Regions from separate parts of the Homo sapiens genome. Here region 1 is linked to region 2. The links are contacts of gene promoters, found by promoter capture Hi-C in blood cells and fetal thymus (Javierre and others, 2016). All regions are on one chromosome and are shown on one strand. Each heading gives the region's core, a stretch centred on a gene start or on the middle of the fragment in contact. The rest is flanking DNA. Distances are from core to core; before and after follow the strand shown.

The links. The method cuts DNA at HindIII sites, captures the fragments that hold promoters and counts their contacts. A CHiCAGO score of 5 or more calls a contact.
Region 1: a fragment that was not itself captured here is called in contact with the fragment with the promoter of DNAJC5G in region 2 in 1 of 17 cell types (naive B cells); the score reaches 5.5 in naive B cells.

Annotation. Positions count from the first base shown.
Region 1 is chr2:27,038,008-27,041,185 of GRCh38, forward strand. It overlaps TMEM214 (transmembrane protein 214), which reads left to right. Exons shown (of 17, transcript NM_017727.5): 10 at 139-230; 11 at 477-525; 12 at 695-808; 13 at 1,040-1,157; 14 at 1,734-1,830; 15 at 2,023-2,191; 16 at 2,338-2,489; 17 at 2,704-3,178. The coding sequence ends at 2,830. Among named protein-coding and RNA genes, the nearest start is that of TMEM214, 6.6 kb to the left of the region's middle. RefSeq lists an enhancer at 803-2,002. The HindIII fragment of the contact is 1,903 bases long and covers 732-2,634 here.
Region 2 is chr2:27,274,122-27,277,280 of GRCh38, forward strand. DNAJC5G (DnaJ heat shock protein family (Hsp40) member C5 gamma) reads left to right here and starts at 1,312. Exons shown (of 7, transcript NM_173650.3): 1 at 1,312-1,432; 2 at 1,985-2,266; 3 at 2,605-2,720. The coding sequence starts at 2,608. It also overlaps a transcript of SLC30A3 not described here. The HindIII fragment of the contact is 3,678 bases long and covers 331-3,159 here.

The DNA.
Region 1 (3,178 bases), core at 433-2,932, 240 kb before region 2:
TGACACTGTTTCTCCACCCCTTAGGGTGGATGTGCGGCCTGGATGGCCTTGCTTACGGGAAGGGGATCACCTCTTAGCACTCCCCGCCTCTGCCAGCCCCATGCCCCCAGCAGCCTCTCCCTCTGTCGTGCTGTGCAGCTCCTGAGCAGCCTGACTGAGTGCCTGACGGTGGACCCCCTCAGTGCCAGCGTCTGGAGGCAGCTGTACCCTAAGCACCTGTCACAGTCCAGGCAGGTGGGGTGGGAGGCCAGCCTGTCCCTGTGCTAGAAGCAGAAGGGGAGCCTGGGTCACTGTCCCATGGCCTGACACCTTTCAGGCTGAGTGGGAACATTGCTGGAGCAGCCTCTAGGAAGCTGCTGCTCTGTGGGTGGTAGGTGGAGGGTCTTTCAGCCTGAAGGAGCCAGGGCTAATGGAGGACAGGAGGATGGGTGAGGCTGCGCGAGCCACCTGACTAGGGGGTTGTGCTTTCCCCACAGCCTTCTGCTGGAGCACTTGCTCAGCTCCTGGGAGCAGATTCCCAAGAAGGTGAGGAGCTGGGAGGACGTGGCAGGTTGAGCCCTGTCTGGATTCTAGGTTCTGAGTGGGGGCTCCTCAGCCACTGTCCCTTCCCTGAGAAGGGACCCTGTTGGCATGGAAAATGAAGCAGGATGGAAGCTCTGGATTCCCTCACAGGCCAGACCTTTCTTGTCCATAGGTACAGAAGTCTTTGCAAGAAACCATTCAGTCCCTCAAGCTTACCAACCAGGAGCTGCTGAGGAAGGGTAGCAGTAACAACCAGGATGTCGTCACCTGTGACATGGCCTGCAAGGTGCTGGCACCCGGTCCTCTCCAGCCCACACGCTATCTTACATCTCTGTCTCAGCACACCTGGGTTGGGCCTGTATCACATTCCTGCCCCACCTGTCTGGAGCCCCCCGCTGCCTCCAGGATAATGTGAAGGCTTGACGCTCTTTCGGGAAGGCCTGGCTTGAGGTCTGCCCTCAGAGGCAAAGACCAGCCCCTCGCTTCTGACAACTGTCTCCTGCTCCCCTCCCACCAGGGCCTGTTGCAGCAGGTTCAGGGTCCTCGGCTGCCCTGGACGCGGCTCCTCCTGTTGCTGCTGGTCTTCGCTGTAGGCTTCCTGTGCCATGACCTCCGGTCACACAGCTCCTTCCAGGGTAAGCAGCAATGGGCAAGCGAGGAGGATGGTGTGGGCGGGGCACAGAGCTACACGTAGCACCACCACCCCGCCCCCAGCAGCACACATCTTTGTCCTGACGAGTTCTCAATCCTGCAGAGTAAACACTTTACAGACAGATTTTTTTGTCCACAGATATGACACTACCATTTCAGATTGGACTAGGACTTCGCAGTATAGAAGTGCTTGCATATTCATAGTATCATTTTAGTAGGTGTTACCTCCTTTTAACTCCTGAGGAAATGGTCTCAGAAAGATGTAGCAATTAGCTTTAGGTCATAGCTAGTAAGTAGAAGGGCAGACCCTCAACCTGAGGCTTCCTGAAGCCTGAGCCTAGGCTCCAACCGGCAGCTGCATTCCTGCACACCTGGCCCAGCAGGAGAAGGGCAGCTCTGCATGCCTCCCTCCACAGCAGCCTGGAGCTGGCTTTGTGGCCCTGTGAGAACACAAAGCTCTGCCCAGCGCCTCGCTGTGCCTGCTCTGGGCCCTGTAGTGTCTGTCTCCCCAGTCCCTGCCCCTCTCACCTCCCAGCTCACCAGAGGCCCCCTTTACTTAGCCTCCCTTACTGGCCGGTTGCTTCGATCATCTGGCTTCTTACCTGCTAGCCAACAAGCGTGTGCCAAGCTCTACTCCTACAGTCTGCAAGGCTACAGGTGAGCTCCTCCCAGGGAGGGGAGAGGAGAGGCAGAAGAGAGAAGGCCTGGGTGTCAGGGAGGAGGCGACAGTCAGTGGGAAGCGCTTGTGATTCTCCTTTCCCACGGCCTCCCTTTCCCCAGCTGTTTCTTGGGAGCTAAGTGGGCCTGAGGAGACTCAGAGCCCTCTTCCCCCACTTCCATCTTCCACAGCTGGCTGGGGGAGACACTGCCGCTCTGGGGCTCCCACCTGCTCACCGTGGTGCGGCCCAGCTTGCAGCTGGCCTGGGCTCACACCAATGCCACAGTCAGCTTCCTTTCTGCCCACTGTGCCTCTCACCTTGCGTGGTTTGGTGACAGTCTCACCAGTCTCTCTCAGAGGGTAAGTCAGAGACAGGGAGTCAAATAAGGGGCTGGTTTTCCCAGGAGCAGAATTCTGGGAAAGGAGCAGCACTGTGTGGCCTGAGTCTTTAGGGCCAGGATGCAGTTCCCTGGATACTCTGACCCCATCCATTCTCCATGGTCCAGCTACAGATCCAGCTCCCCGATTCCGTGAATCAGCTACTCCGCTATCTGAGAGAGCTGCCCCTGCTTTTCCACCAGAATGTGCTGCTGCCACTGTGGCACCTCTTGCTTGAGGCCCTGGCCTGGGCCCAGGAGCACTGCCATGAGGCATGCAGGTGAGACCTTTGCCCAGGGCTCCGGCAGGATCCCCAGCAGCCCCATTCCCGGGCCCCAGGGACAAGCCATCTCTATCCAGTCTCCCACACTGTCCTGCCCCTCGCTCCCATTCCTGGCCACCCTGGGATGAGGGTTGTGGGTCTAAGCTTTCATCCCCGAAAGTTGACACAGCTACTCACGTGCATACTCAAAAATGTTCCACTTTCCTTCCAGAGGTGAGGTGACCTGGGACTGCATGAAGACACAGCTCAGTGAGGCTGTCCACTGGACCTGGCTTTGCCTACAGGACATTACAGTGGCTTTCTTGGACTGGGCACTTGCCCTGATATCCCAGCAGTAGGCCCTGCCTTCCTGGCCACTGATTTCTGCATGGGTAGACCATCCAAGACTGCAGCGGGTAGAAGGTGGCAGTTCTTCATGGGAGTCTTTTTAACTTGGTGCCTGAGTTCTCTCCTAGGCAAGTGGCCAGTTGCCTCCACCTCAGTTCTTCCATCTTTGGTGGGGACAGGGCCCAGCAGCATCTCAGCCTCCTACCCACAATTCCACTGAACACTTTTCTGGCCCTACTGCACATGGCCCCCAGCCTCCATCCTTGTGCTGGTAGCCTCTCACAACTCCGCCCTTGCCCTCTGCCTTCCACTTCCTTCCATCTCATTTCTAAACCCCAAACAGCTCATCTCTAAAAAGA
Region 2 (3,159 bases), core at 62-2,561:
AACCAGCCTGGCCAACATGGTGAAACCCCGTCTCTACTAAAAATACAAAAAAAATTAGCCAGGCGTGGTGGCAGGCACCTGTAATCCCAGCTACTTGGAAGGCTGAAGCAGGAGAATCACTTGAACCCGGAAGGCAGAGGTTCCAGTGAGCAGACATTGTGCCACTGCACTCCAGCCTGTGTGACAGAGTGAGACTCCACCTCAAAACACAACAAAACAAACAAAAAAAACCTACAAGGTGAGGAAAATGTGCACAAATAACTGTAATAAAAGGAAGAGAGTGATAAAAGCTACAAAAAGGTTAACAGATAAGCATTTTCCAAGTAACAAAGCTTTTTCTACTACATGTTACAGGAGCCATTGAGTGCTCTTGCAAAGAAAACCAGCACTACAAAGTAGTAAATTATAAGTGATGCAAACACTACCTCCTGTAGAAACTCACAGGAAGGGAAGCCAGGTAGAGGCATGCTCCCATGCCAGCAGGTGGGGATACAAATCCTCCTTCTGCTACCTTTCCAGAAGAAAGTTAGCAATAGAGATCAAGAGCGTAAAAAAAAAAGAAAAGAAAAAAGAAAAAAAAAATCATTTCGACCCAATAATTCCACTTCTAAGAATGTATCCTTAGGAAAAAAAATTAGACATTTGTTCAAGGATTTCTGTTGAATTTTCCTTATAAGGTTATTATATTATCAAATAGAAACAACTGAAACAGCCAAGTTGGGTTACATTATGGGACATGCTCATGATGGCATCATATTTAAGTGACGTTTTTGAAGCACGGTAGTGACTTTTGGAAAAGGCTCAATACATCATTTTAATGAGACGTGCAAACTCATCATTACGATATACTAGGAGAAATGCTTTGACAGACGAAGTGGGAACAACTGGGAGAGTGAATGATGGAGTGTCAGGAACAGGGGCATATGAGTTGGGTCTTCCAGGTTGTGGAGGTGTTTCCGGGTGGAAGAGAAGGAGGGACCAAGCGGAGAGCCCTAAGTCCTGAAGACAACTGGGAAGGTAACACACCTCTTAAGAAGGGCATGCAGCAGCCATACCTCTCATCCGCCACGGTCAGCAAACCCATTGTGTTTCCTGGAGTGAGTTGGGCCATCAAGATGGGTGGTGCCCTCCTGCTGGGGAAGAGGGGCTCGGTGGGAATCCCTGCCCCAAGGCCTGGCAGCAACGCTCCTACGCTGCCTTGGGCCGCAGGCCTGCTAAGCCCTCCGCTCTCGCTTCCCTGCGCGCGAAATAAGTCCCAGGGCCAATGTGGCCTCCCCACCCAGTGCTTCCGGGGGCGCCAAAAAACGACCTGCCCAGACCCTCAGCGTCGACGCTGCGCACAAGCGCAGTCAACTGCTGGACCCGGCCGGTGTGAAGTTTCACACCCAAAAGGATGAAGGGCACCCACCTGGCTTAAGAGAACGACTCCCAGGTAAAGGGCCAGACCCAGGTGAGGAGTCGGCACAGGGCCAGAGGTGCCCTGCACACTCAGAGCTCTCCCTTTGAGCTCCTTGCCTTGCTCGGTTCTCCTGGGCCGCAGGCGTCTACCCTGCTCTCTGGGGTTCCGCTGCCTTTTCCTTGCCAGGTCTTTCCCACAGCAACGCCTTTTCTCTTCCTTCTCCAGCCTCTGAGTCCTCTTCCTCCTCTCCCCACTGTCCCACCTCTGAGGGACAGAAGTGGGGTGGTTTGAGAGCAGGAGACTGGAGGGAAGAAGCAAGTCCAGGCCTAGCTGCAAGCACTCCCCACCCCCGCCCCCGCCCCCGCCCCCGCCCCCGCCAGGCTCTAGGACACTTGACTTCTGTTAGGCCTCACACGGTTTGGTCTGAAGTGTTTCTCTCTTAATAGCTGTGGATCGGCGAGGCTCAATGGCTCACGCCTGTAATCTCAGGACTTTGGGAGGCCGAGGTGGGTGGATCACCTGAGGTCAGGAGTTCAAGAACAGCCTGACCAACATGGTGAAACTCTGTCTCTACTAAAAACACAGAAAATTAGCCGGGCGTGGTGGCGTGCACCTGTAATCTCAGCTACTCGGGAGGCTGAGGCAGGAAAATCGCTTGCACCCAGGAGGTGGAGGTTGCAGTGAGCCGAGATCGCGCCATTACACTTCAGCCTGGGCAACAAGAGCAAAAAACTCCGTCAAAAAAAAAAAAAAGAAGAAGAAGTTGTGGAGCTGTCTGATTCCTGATCCTGTCCGTTCAGGCTGGGGCCGCCCTGGTCTTTCAAACCCAGCAGTGAGCTTGGACAGACCCAGAGGTGTTTACTCCAGGTAATAGGAGCTCTAGACAAAATCAGGCTCTTTTCCTGGCTTAGACCTCTCCCTGCTTACAACACCTCTAGGATGTGGGATATCTAGAGGTCTGTGTAGCTGGAGGATGCTGGGAAATGTGAGGAGAAGATGTTTCCTCCTTAAAATTGGAATCTTTCTGATCACCTGAATTCTCCTGCTAGCCACAAATCCCACTCACTCTTATCTTATCCTTGTCCTTCTGTCATCGTTTACCTGCCTAATCCCTGAAGGTAGTGAGTTTCCTGTCACTGGAAGTGCACTTCTCGGTACCCTTACTTGTAGAAGTTCTCACAGATGCTGCTTCTCCTCTGGCTCAGATCATGTCTACTGTGAAGGAAGCAGCACACCGGCTGTCCAAAAGTGAGATGAGCCTCTATGCAGTGCTGGATCTTAAGAAGGGCGCCTCACCTGAAGACTTCAAAAAATCCTACAGGTTCAGACCTCAGCCCTTTATTGATCCTTGGAATTTCCCCCTTAAACCTTTTTCTTTCTGTATCTCTTTTGCTATCTGACTCTTTTTTTTTTTTTTTTTTTTTGAGAGGAAGTCTCGTCCTGTCACAGAGCAGAGACAGAGACTATTGAGAGTGCAGTGGCACGATCTTGGCTTACTGCAACCTCTGCCTCCCAGGTTCAAGCAATTCTCTCACCTCAGCCTCCTGAGAAGCTGGGACTACAGGCGTGCACCACCACGCCTGGCTAATTTTTGTATTTTTAGTAGAGACAGGGTTTCGCCATGTTGGCCAGGCTGGTCTCAAACTCCTGACCTCAGGTGATCTACCTGCCTCGGCCTCCCAAAGTGCTGGGATTACAGGTGTGAACCACTGTGCCTGGCCTACGACCCGTTTGTTTGTTTGTTTGTTTGTTTGTTTGTT